Linked DNA regions of Homo sapiens: regions 1 and 2 are each linked to region 3. The links are contacts of gene promoters, found by promoter capture Hi-C in human tissues and cell types (Jung and others, 2019). All regions are on one chromosome and are shown on one strand. The core of a region is centred on a gene start or on the middle of the fragment in contact, and the rest is flanking DNA. Distances in the headings are between cores, read along the strand shown. Region 1 overlaps ITGA11 (integrin subunit alpha 11). Region 2 has its middle 36 kb from the start of ITGA11. Region 3 holds the start of ITGA11 (integrin subunit alpha 11).

The links. The method cuts DNA at HindIII sites, captures the fragments that hold promoters and counts their contacts. A contact is called where the count stands out against the background at its distance.
Region 1: a fragment that was not itself captured here is called in contact with the fragment with the promoter of ITGA11 in region 3 in 1 of the 25 tissues and cell types used here (mesenchymal stem cells).
Region 2: a contact is called between a fragment that was not itself captured here and the fragment with the promoter of ITGA11 in region 3, in 3 of the 25 tissues and cell types used here (mesenchymal stem cells, spleen and thymus).

What each region holds. Positions count from the first base shown.
Region 1 is chr15:68,391,045-68,395,368 of GRCh38, reverse strand. The region is part of intron 2 of ITGA11 (integrin subunit alpha 11); the gene reads left to right. Among named protein-coding and RNA genes, the nearest start is that of ITGA11, 39 kb to the left of the region's middle. The HindIII fragment of the contact is 5,663 bases long and covers 1-4,324 here.
Region 2 is chr15:68,465,623-68,469,736 of GRCh38, reverse strand. No RefSeq gene overlaps it. Among named protein-coding and RNA genes, the nearest start is that of ITGA11, 36 kb to the right of the region's middle. The HindIII fragment of the contact is 5,881 bases long and covers 1-4,114 here.
Region 3 is chr15:68,430,422-68,434,438 of GRCh38, reverse strand. ITGA11 (integrin subunit alpha 11) reads left to right here and starts at 2,276. Exons shown (of 30, transcript NM_001004439.2): 1 at 2,276-2,424. The coding sequence starts at 2,373. RefSeq lists a silencer at 275-569 and an enhancer at 3,116-3,875. The HindIII fragment of the contact is 3,029 bases long and covers 1-2,823 here.

The DNA.
Region 1 (4,324 bases), core at 1,310-3,809, 39 kb after region 3:
TATTGCCAACCTTCTGAAGCCTACTTCTGTCAACTCGTCAAAGTCATTCTCCATCCAGCTTTGTTCCATTGCTGGTGAGGATCTGCGATCCTTTGGAGGACAAAAGTGCTCTGACTTTTAGAGTTTTCAGCTTTTCTGCTCTGGTTTCTCCCCATCTTTGAGGTTTTATCTACCTTTGGTCTTTGATGTTGGTGACCTACAGATGGGGTTTTGGTGTAGATGTCCTTTTTGTTGATGTGGATGCTATTCCTTTCTGTTTGTTAGTTTTCCTTCTAATAGTTGGGTCCCTCAGCTGCAGGTCTGTTGGAGTTTGCAGGAGGTCCACTCCAGACCCTGTTTGCCTGGATATCACCAGTGGAGGCTCAGTTGGATATGCAGAAATCACCCGTCTTCTGCATCGATCATGCTGGGAGCTGCAGACTGGAGCTGTTCCTATTCGGCCATCTTGGAATGGATCTCAACTTCTTAAAGATAATGGATTATTCAGATTTGCTACTCCTTCTTGTGTTAATTTTAGTAACTTGGGTTTTTCAAGTAATTTGTACATTTCATTCAAATTTTATCCACAAATATTCATATTAGCCTCCTATTATCTTTTCAATGTCTATAAGATCTATATATCCTCTTTTTCATTTCTCTTTTTGGTAATTTGTGTTGTCCCTCTTATTTTTTATCAGTCTTGCTATGGGCATATTAATTTTATTAATGTGTTCTAGGATCAACTATGGGCTTTACTGATTTTCTCTATTGAATCCCTGATTTCTCATTCATTGGTTTCTATTCTCATTTTAATTATTTCTTCCATTTTTTTATTTAATTTATCTTTTTCTAGCTTCTTACTTAAATTGTTGATTTTCTGACCCTTTTTCTTTTCTAAAATATACATATAAGGCTATATATTTCCTCTAACATTGCTTTAGCTGCATCCTACAAATTTTGATGTTTTCATTATCATTCAGGTTAAAATAATTTCTAATTCTCATCATGATTTCTTCCTTGGACCGTGGGTTATTTAGAAATGTGTTTTTTAATTTCCAAATATTTGGAGATTTTCTAGTTGTCTTTCTATTATATTTCTAATTCAATTCCATGGTGGTCAAGAGAGCTGCTGTATAATTTAAAATCTTAGTTGTTTGTTGGCAATATTTTAAATTACTGATTCAATCTCACTGCTTGTTATTGGTCTGTTCAAAATTACTGTTTCTTACTGATTCAAGCTAGGATGGTTGTATGCTTCCAAGAATTTATGTGTTTCCTCTAGATTTTCTAGTTTGTTTGCATAGATGTTCATAGTAGTCTTGAATGGTCTCTTATACCACTGTGGTGTCAGTCGTAATATCTCCATTTTCATTTCTAACACAGCTTTACAATCTATTTGCAATTAGTATTTTACCACTTTCTAAGTAACACAATAACTTTACGACAGTTTGATTCCAGTCCCCTGTCCTGTCCTTTGTGTTATTTTTGTCATATATTTTACCTTTGCACATGTTATAAATTCCACAAGACATTATTGTTATTGTTGCTTTAAGTTGTTAATATTTATGTCTACTTATCCACATAGCTACCCTTTCTGGTGTTCTTCGTCTCTTTTATATAATTCTGTGCTCTCATTTGAGATAATTTTCTTTCAGCCAAAGAACTCTACTTAGTATTTCTTGTGGTATAAGTCTGCTAACAAGAGTTCTTTCAGCCTTGGGAGTTGGGTTTTCTGTTTGTTTTTGTTCGTTTGTCTGAAAAGATCTTAATCTCACCTTAATTTTTGAAGTATTTCTTATCTAGTTTTTCTTTTAGCACTTTAAAATGTCATTCCATTGTCTATTGGCTTTACAGTTTCTGTTGAGATGTCAACCATCAGTTTTATCATTCTTTTGAATGTAATATGTCATTTTCTTGTGGTTGCTTTCTTATTTGCCTTTAATGTCAGCAGTTTGACTATGATGTATCTAAATGTAGTTTTGTTGTATTTGTTCTGCATAGGGTTTCCAAAGCTTCTTGAATCTGCATTGATACTTTTAATTAGATTTGGAAAATTCTCTACCTTCATTTTTAAAAATATAGCTTTTGTCCCATTTCTTCTCTCCTTTTCTTTCTAAACTTGAATTGTGTGTATGTTAGGCCTTCTCGCCATATTTCTCATATTTCTGTTCAGTTTTTTATTCCATTTTTCTCTTGCTGTGCTACAATTTAGATATCCTCTATTCATCTGTCTTCAGGGTCACTAATCCAGCTTTCTGCTGTATCCATTGTGCAGCTAAACCCATTCGATATACTCTTTATTACAGATATTTTATTTTGCTCCTGAATGTCCACTGGATTCTTTTTTTATAGATTCTAATTCTGTCACAATAATCTGTCTTGATCCCAATTGTCCATCTTTTGTTCTATTTTCTTTAACACATTAATTATAATTATTTTGAAGTCCTGGCTGGTTAACTCCAATATCTGGATCATCTCTGGTCTGCTTCTGGTGACTATTTTATCTCATGGTTATCCATTTTTTCCTGATTATTTACTCATTTTGTAAATATTGTGAATATTGTGGATGTTACAGTTTTGCCCTTATTCCTAGGATGTGGTCTTTACTCTTAGAGCATAGATTTTCTGGGGTCTCAAATGAAATCCCAGAGTATTCATTAAGGTCTCTCCTTTCTGACTGGGTATGAACCCCAACACCTTCCTCCCAGAATAGGAGGCAACCTCTAAAATCTCTGCTCCCATTGGCTGTTTTCTGATAGATTTTCCAGTGTATCATACTATGCATACACAGCTTAGGAGTCAGCCAAGAACCTGAGGGAAACTTTCAACAGAGCTTTTGAGACTCTTTTCCTGTTGTTCTCTCCTTTCTGGTATGCTGCCCTTCCCAAATCCTAGTCATCTTTGCAGCCCCAACTCCAATCCCTATTTCCTCCATCCAGCAAGACTTCTACTCTCTGCATCCATTTCCCTGTGCTTCAGCAAAGAAAATGCCCTCAGAGGAAAAGCTGGGGTGAACAGGGTTTCAGCTTCTGTATTTCCCTTCTTACAAGTATTGAGCTCTGCCTTGATTGCTGTCCAGTGCCTGAAAATAGTTGTTTTAGATATTTTGTGCTGTTTACATAGTTGTTTATGGCTAGAATTGAAAGCCCTCTTTCATATTCTTTTTATCAACTTAGATATCACTTCCTCTGAGAAACTTTCTCTGACTATCCCTTCCCATCACTACATAAGCTGCCCCCATAGAATTCTGTGTTTCTCTTTTCATAGCACTTATCAAATTGAATAGTAATTGCCTGTATCATTATCTTACTTCCTGAAATCAGCGGTATAATTCCTGGTGTTTAGTAGGTGCTCAAAGAACTTACTTTGACAGACTGAATTAAGGATTTGAGCCTCTTTCAACCAGCCCAGACATAAGATGCATGACATCCATATTGTTTACATGGTATGAAAGGTTAAAAATTAAGTTGAACTGACTTTTCCAAGACAGAATTTATTTTGACCAATATTTGTTTATTAGGCATCTGTTAATGAATTTTACTAGACTCGGCAAAATATTGGTATGAGTAAAACGTGGTTTCACTCTCAAATAAGTCACAGACCAGTTAGGGAGGCAACATTAATACCCTTGAAATAATTTAAAACCAATGCAAGTCAAATATGACCTGGTATTAATTACATGCATCTTTGAGGCTACTTTCTCCATGAAGGCTTTCTGAATCCTTTTCCTAGCCTAAAATGACCTTACCCTCCCCAAGCCTTTTCTGTGATAACACATATCACTTCCCACTTTTTGTTGGAGTCACTGAGGCCCATGGCCCATCTCCCCTGTTGGACACCAGCTTCATCTCCCTGCAGCCCAAGAGCAGCCAACACAGCATCATCTTCACAGCAGAAACCCAGCCAGACTCTGAAAGGAGAAATCACTGTGCCTGGGGTCTCTGGAAATGCTCCATGGAAGAGGGCAGTTGAACATGATCTTGGAGGTTGGGCATAGAAGAGCAGAAAGATATGACAGAACCAACTCCTGGTAGCTTTTGCTTATCTGAGTGCAGCCTGGAGCATTGTGGGAGAGAAATGGTGCCCCAGGTGGGCAGGGTCCCACCCATTGCAGCCACTGGACCTGAGCATGTTACTGCCACAGCCGAGCTGAGAGAAACAGAGAGGGTGGCCTTGGGGACCCCGAGAGCTGAGCCCCCTCCAGAATGGACAGGAGCACACTGGGCCTTTCTAGAATCTCTGTTCCCACTTGTGTGGATCCCACCACAAATCCTACTTGGCTTTCCCCTCCCTGCTTCCTCTTCTGGCCCCATCTTCTCTGTCGTATGGGCAGCATTCCAAGAAT
Region 2 (4,114 bases), core at 493-2,992, 36 kb before region 3:
TCACATATCAGAAAGCTGCAAATATTCTTTCCTCCTTTCATTTCTATACTTCAGATGTCCCAAACCAGCCTGCCAGCAGTGTTTGTCCCCTGCCTTCCCTCCAACCCACCCTTAGGAATCTCAGCACAACCAAGGAAAGAGGGTGACCTTGTGCACTTGAGTGTGTATGTGACTATGGGTGTGAATATACCTGAGTGTGTGTGTCCTCCTGTGTGAGTATGTGTGTGACACTTCTTTCCCCGTAAGGTGTTCAGAACCCAGGCTTCACTTGGTACCTCCTGTGAGCTCTGGAGCCAGGTTCTCCACTCTGTTATACCACAGTTGCCCAGAGAAGGACCCACGCACCATGTTCAGTAGACCTGGAATGCCATAAGGAATACCCAGACCTATAAATTATCTGCCTGGAGGTTCCCCAGCGCTGTCTAGGTTACCTGGACCCACACAGAAATCCTGTCTCCCTGGAAATCTAGCTTTTTAGCTCACTTTCCTAAATGAGGACAGGTGCCCCGTCCTCACCTTGGCATTCACTTCTCTCTCTTTATTCCCATACCCAAGCTGCAGCTACTACCAGCCTGTGTAGGCCACCAGTCTACTGCAGGGGTGGCCTCCTCTAGTCTCACATAAGATGCAGCTTCTCCTCAGCATAGTCCCTAATCACCTTTAGAGTCTTCCACTCCCCCCATCCCTCCTCCACCCTAGAATTTCTCCTTTATGACCTCCTCATGGGTCATCCCTCTCTGTTATTCCTTACCCCTGCATCTCATTGTATGTTTTTTTTGTTTTGTTTCATTTTTTTGAGATGGTGTCTCACTCTGTCTCCCAGGCTGGAGTGCAGTGGCACAATCTCAGCTCACTGCAACCTCTGCCTCCCGGGTTCAAGCAATTCTCCTGCCTCAGCCTCCTGAGTAGCTGGGATTACAGGCGCACGCCACCACCCCCGGCTAATTTTTGTATTTTTATTAGAGACGGGGTTTCACCATGTTGGTCAGGGTGGTTTCGAACTCCTAACCTCGTGATCTGTCTGCCTTGGCCTCCCAAAGTGCTGGGATTACAGGTGTGAGCCACCATGCCTGGCGGCATCTTTCTTTTTTTTTAGATGGAATCTTGCTCTTGTCGCCCAGGCTGGAGTACCATGGCTCAATCTTGGCTCACTGCAACCTCTGCCTCCCGGTTTCAAGCGATTCTCCTGCCTCAGCCTCCCGCGTAGCTGGGATTATAGCCATGCCTGGCTAATTTTTTTTTCGATTTCTACTAGAGATGGGGTTTCCCCCATGTTTGCCAGGCTGGTCTCGAGCTCCTGACGTCAGGTGATCCACCAGCCTCAGCCTCCCAAAGTGCTGGGGTTACAGGTGTGAGCCACTGCGCCCGGCCTCACTGCATCTTATTGCACCAAAATAATGAACATCACTCGTCTGCTGCTGTCTCTTTTCTTCCTCTTTGCCCTTGTGAGATTATTCCTTTTCTACTAGCAAGGAAGCTCCATGAGGGCAGGATGTATGTCTGTTTTGCTCACTGAAGTATCCCAAGTTCCTGGCATAAAGTAGGTGCTCAGTAAATATTATTGAACACCAAAAAATGCATAGTATGGTTGAGCAACTGGCCAGCGGGTTTGGAATTAGCTCAATTTATCAGCTTCTGGAGCATTTTTGGAAATCCCAGTAGCTCCAGAAATAACGTTACTAAAGCCCCAGGAAAGGAACATTCTGTTACTTGTTAAACAACTTCTCACCAAAGCCAAAAAAACAAAACAAACAAACAAAAAAAACCACCTCTCACGACCAACTCCATCAATAATTTCATCCTTCTTTAGCCAAATCCACTTGGGGAGAAAGAGCAATAGAATGTGCAAGGAGCAAGGAGTCCCCATTTTACCAGGTACATCTGTGGTTTCCTTAGAGTTCTGGTTTGCAGTTTTGACTGGGCATCATAATTCCTGGAGAGTTTGTTTACTCCTGTGCTCTGTACCCAGAGGCTTGGCTTTCCTAGATCTGGGATGAAGCCCAGAATCTGCATTTTAATAATCTCTCTATCCAATTTAGAAGCGACTGGCAATCTCCCATCTCAATTTGAAATACTATATCTTAGAGTTTATAAGAGCAAATGAAAATTCAGCAAAGATACGACCTGTCATGAAGGAGGCTAAGGGGAGTTGGTTGATAAACCAAGCATCAGGTTTTCTCAGGAGCCACAGCTGAAAAAAGGACATTATGAAAGCTGAAAGGACAGGCAGACACACAGCCAAGAATGAATCCCAGAATAAACTGAAGAAAGTTTTCTAAAGGAAATGGATGTGAGTTTTTAAGGATTTGTTTTGTGAAGGAGAATATGGACTTCATGGGCATTTACGCATGGGGTATGAGTTACAGGGAAACAGATTTCAGCTCCGCATAAGAAAGAATTTTATCACAGACTCACCTTGCAATATATTGGGTTAAAGGATTTACTTGAAGGTTGGAGAATATTATATTTACCATCATTTCTTCTTTGAGATAGCATTCACAGGGCTAGAAAGGGGAACAATGACCAGCAGTTGGGCTTAAGAATGGAATAAATGCCCAAAAAGAAATCTTCCATAACAAAATGTGATTACCATTGTTAAATAACTGCTGGAAGGGAGATCTGGAAAATTGTGGCATTTTTCCTTAGTGGTGAATGCAAGTTTGGGCTGGAGCTGAACTGCCAGACAGAGTAGTAAAGAGCTGTATGGGGGAAGGGTGGGGGAAGTGTATCACTGAGGTATCAAGGTAGGAGAAACTTGGGGAGAGCAAACAGGATAAGAAAGATGTCTGGGGACCTCTACTGTTATGTTGTATATGACATTACTACCTGGCTTTCATCTCACCTCAAAATCTTCATTAAGCTTTAGGGTTTTCACAAATGTTTTGGGCTTTTGAGGGACACGGTAGTCTTGATTGCTGATTAAGTTGGACCCGAGAAAAAAACCAAAGACTGCTCCTAGAAGAAGAGCCAAATATTAGTTTTAGCAATGCTAATAGCCACTAGCAATTGAGCTCTTATTGCATGCCACACATGGTGCTAAGTACATTAAATGCAGTATTACATTTAGTTTTCACTATCATCCTCTAAGGTAGAAATCATCATCCCCCTTTTTCAAGAATGAAAGCTGAAGCTTCAAATATAAATAAATACACACACACACACACACACACACACACACACACACACACACACCCGTGTGTTACCCAGGTTATGTTACCCAGGCTGGTCTCAGTCTCGTTGGCTCAAGTGATCCTCCCACCTCAGTCTCCTAAAGTGCTGGGATTACAGGTGTGAGCCATCGTGCCTGGCTGGGGCCCCAAATATTTAAACAGTATGCTCAGTGCTGAAGCTGGGATTTCAGCCCAGGCCCATTTGACCTCAGGGCCTATATTTTAAAATACTACCTATGAAGAAGCTTCCCTGGTCGCTGGAAAATGTCCAGTGAAAGGCTGGTGAGCCTCTGTCAGGTATGTAGTAGAGAGATTTGGGCCTGCCAGGAGTTTAGGCCATGGATGATGCCTACACATACATACACTGGATGTGAACACACATAAGCACACACACTTCCTGAGGATGCACACACATGTCTTTTGCATACTTGCAACGGGACTGAACCAACCACAGCTCTCAACTCTGCTGTGTCTTCCTCTGGGTACATCATGTGACCTCTGTTGGGAGCTCTTGGACCGCAGGAGTTTGGCACCAGGCAGATTCAGCATTTCCTTCTCCCACACTACATATCTTAATTGAACACTTGTTCCAGGCCACACAGGGTACTAGGTACTGGGTATATAGGAATGGGAAAAAGCAGACAAGCTCCCTGCTCTTATGGAGGAGACAGACAATCAGATAACCACACAGACAAACATGCAATTGCACCATGACTCTGCTGTGATAAGGAGTTTTTTGGTGCTATGAGGGGGACAGAGCCTGAAGGCCTGGGACTGAACTGGGCTTGGAGACCCAGAGACCAAGTTCTGAGTTTGAGCAGGTGTTGTTCAGGTAGCAGATGGGGAAGAGTGCTCTGGGCAGAGAGAATAACATGAACAAGGGCCTTGCAATGGGAGGGAGTGTGGCCCTGGAGAACTGGCTGAAGACTGGTGGGGTCTGAGCA
Region 3 (4,017 bases), core at 1,027-3,526:
ATTATGATTAAATAAATACATGGTTATGTCTTGTCTCCTCAGCTCCATCACCAGCTGCCCTAGTGTGGGGTTCTCCTTCCGTGTGTCCTACAGAGCACAGGGGCACAGTAGGCACTCTGTAGGATCTGTTGAAAGAACAAATGAGGGCACACCTCTCCCCTCACCCTCCCACATTACACAAAAGCACACAGAGTGATCCTCAGGACCCCCATTCCCCAGGCACCTGTGAGGACGGTGAAGGTGAATGAATGGTAGAATTGTTACCAGCGAGACCAGCAGCAGCGCAGCTAGGACAGCCACTACAGTGCGCCCCTTCAGCAAGCAGCATGCAGACTCTGAGCACAAGCTGCAGACCACCCACACGTCAGAGGTGCCTGGGGCACCCACCAGCATGCCCTGATCCTTGGGGAATTTGCATTCTTTGCACGTGCTCCAGGTCGTTCTGATGCACCTGGAGATTTGTGCAAGGCAGGAATGTGGGCTGCAGCCCATTCCCTAGCTGTAGGGGTGTTCTACATTCAACTCAGCTGGCTTAAACTCAACTCAGTGAAGAGGACTCACTGTCGTATAACTGATAAGTCCCAAGGGGAGTGGGGTTAAGGGGTGGCTTCATTCAGGAGTTCAACAAGATCCTCCATTCTGTCATCCAGTGTCCACCTCATCTCAAGGCCAGATCCTCCTTCCCTACCCTGACCCTGTCAACTTCTGAGCCTACAAAGTTCCTTGTCCCAGGCTGGGAGAGGAGGCAGGAGTGGGAGAGGTGAGGAGAGAGAGTTAGTTCATTTGTTTGTTTGTTCTAGGGGCTCTTTTAGAAAGGCAAGAAAGCTTGCTTCCCAAAAAAACTTTTTCTTTTGTCATATTGCCCTTTCTGAAACGATGGGCTGGGAAGGGCAACATACTGATTCATTTCAGCCTGAACCGCATGCCTCCTTACACACACACACACACACACACACACACCAGGGACGGAATCACCTTCCCCGAGTCTGTGGCTGAATGGGTGAGGTGAAGATGAAGTAAAACCCAGATAGCCAACCGAAAGATAGTGAGGTTGGGAGACGAGCACAAGCCCACTTCACTTATGTGAACCTGGGTCTTCTCAAACTCCAGCTCATCTTCAGGGGCCCTGACTGAACATCACCTCCTCTGGGAAGCCCTTCCAATACCTCCCAGATAGAAAACTCTATCCTTTGTGCACCCACACACCACCTGTACTCACCCATCCATCCACCCGCCCACCTACTTTGTTCCTGGGTGTTAGGGGCTGAGTACTCCATTGTGAACCAGAGATTTCTACCCTGATGGTGTTTTCAGTCTGCACAGGAGAGAAAAGTTAAATGATCACACCAATTGATGCCTTGCTTCTCTACTAAGCACAATGAAGAGAAATGAGGGAGAGCGGGCTGGGGAATATCAGCATGTGTCTGGGACTCAACCTGGTGGGGACGGGAAGAGGGGGTGAAGGAAGCCTTTCCTGAGAAAGTGGGGGAAGGGCGCTCTGCTGTGGCTTTCCCTGCATCTTGGCCTTCCTACCCTCTGCCTCGGCTTCCTCCATTGCTGGAAAAGCCTCCACAAGCGCGGTGGAGGTCCGGGGCCTGGATTTAAAGCTCTTGAGATAAATGTGCATTGAATTTAACTACCAGTGATTAGAAGAGGGAAAGAAGGTGGCAGGGTTACAAAGAAGAGCTTCACGTTAGGTTAAGAGGGGGTGCACGGTGTCCCTGGGTGCTTTGGAATGCCTCAGGTGTGGAGGCTCAGGGAGTGGCAGTGGAGGCGAATCTGCATGTATTCCAGGGTCAGAAGAAACACTAGCCTCTACAATTCAAGCCGCAGGGTGCAGGGAGACACGGGGATGTCTTAGAATGGACCTTTGAGGGACATCCACTCACTTGGCCAAGGGAGACCTGCGTTCCAGCAGGTGTTCCTGAGCCAGCTTGGGTACCCTCTGAGTTTTGTGAATCTCTTTTCACTGGGAAATGGGAATAAAAACCACTTTTCCTGAACAGAATCTGACTGAGGCGGTGCGGTGCTACACTGGTGAGGGGGTTCCCAGGAGCGGTTCTCTGGAGTTTTCTCCAGAGGCTGACGTGGGGTTGGCGGAGAAGGAGCGCTGCACAGGCGCGTCGAGGCAGCGCGCCGCCTGCCCAGGTGGCAGAGCGGCCGAGACTGGCCCAGAGCCCGAGCCGGAGTGGTGTCCGGCGCCCCTCCCCTCCGCTCGAGCCCTCCCACTTCCTCTGAATGAGCCGCAGCTGTCAGGGAGCCCGGCGCCCCGCGCAGTGCAGGCTGCAGGCGCCGCGCCGAGGAGGCTGCCGCTCTGGCTTGCCGCCCCCCGCCGCCGCTGCACACCGGACCCAGCCGCCGTGCCGCGGGCCATGGACCTGCCCAGGGGCCTGGTGGTGGCCTGGGCGCTCAGCCTGTGGCCAGGTAGGTGCCCACCCTCTGCCTCCCCTTGCCTCTCGGAGTCCCTCCCTGGGCCCTCGGGGCTTGGATCCAGCGGCCAGGATCGGGACGCGACCCTCCTCCCAGGGTCAGACCTCAGCTGCTCTTGGGGACGTGGGTCCCCCAGGGACTGGCCCCAGTCTAGCGGTTCAGTCAAGTTTCGCTAAAGAGGGAGGTGCGAAGGCTATTGAAAGCCGGGACTCTTTGGTGTGTTTGGGAAGAGTTGAAGAGGCTTGAGTTGAAAAGCTCCCAGATCTGGTGGCCCTCCTGGGCGCCTTAGGTGCCTCCAAGGCCCATGCCGGGGTTCCCGCACGGCTGCCAGGGGCACTCGGGTGTCCCGGGAGCGCCGAGGGCGCACGGCCCCGGCTGGGGAAGGGAATCAGCGCCAAGAGAGTGTGCCCTGGCTGCCCTCCTGCCTGGCTCCGGGGAAGCATCTCAAAGTTTGGAGAGCCGGGCGCGGCGGCCCCGGAGGGCTGAAGGGTGGGGGTGAGGGCTGCGCAGAGTGCCTCCGGCCAAAGACAGAGCAAAGCCCCGGGGCGATGGCCGGTAGGCGGGGGCTAGCTCTCGTCTGCCCGGCCAGCAGCGGCGGGACACAGTCGCGCAGCGCAGGACCCCCGAAACGTTACCTGACACCCGGGGTAGGGACCCGGCATTGCCTCCCAACCCGCGCTCGGAATTATGCAATTATTCAATAATCTGGGGAAAGCCGCCGTCGCCTAGACGCGCGCCGCCGCCTAATGCACTCCAGGTGTCGGGGCGCGGCAGGAACCTCCGGCCCGAGGGGCGCGCGGCTGGGAGCGGGAAGCCAGCCCTGAGCTCTCCGCCCTAGGGTACCCTGGCCCCGGCCGTCCCACACCGGGCTCCCCGGCTCCACCCTCCACGCGGGGCGGCTGCCAGTGATGCTGTTCTGCGGAAGACGGCCAAGTGCTCCGGCAAGGGCCAGCGCCTCGGTTACTGGCCGGGTGTGGGCGCTCAACCTTGCCTCCCCTTCTGCGTGGGCTCCAGGCCCGAGCTGGGGCCAGTAGTGGGGGTCAGATGCGGTGGTAGTGGGAGAGGTGCCCTCAGGGAGCTCAGGTGGAGACCCCTATCCCGCAGCCGCTTGCCCCAGTCCCCGGGTACCACGCGAAGCAAGTCCACCCTCCTGTCGGCCTACAGAGGAGCTTCTCAGAGGGCCCATGGTTGAAAGGGCCTCTGGCTAGTGGAATCCTAGAGTCACAGTTTAAAACAATCATTGATACATTGAGTTGTGGGGGCTTGGAAGGGAGAGCAGGGGAAGAACTGCCACCAGGCCAATATGCAACTAGAAGCCAGCTGCGGGAGGAGGCCAAGCCCATTTAGGTGTGTTTAGACAGGAGGGGAGAATCTTCTCCAGGAACTGTCCTCATATCACTAGGAGATCCAGCCACAAGAAAAGAGACGCACTCCTGTGTGACTCCAGATAGGTGGCTGCATCAGAACCTTGGGAAGGAGTGGCTGCCTTAGGGGCTAGGGACAGCCTGGACCTCAGGAAGCTAAGAGCAATGGCTTTGGAATCAGACCTGGCTTCCACTTCTGGCTCTGCACCCTGCTAGCTGTTCA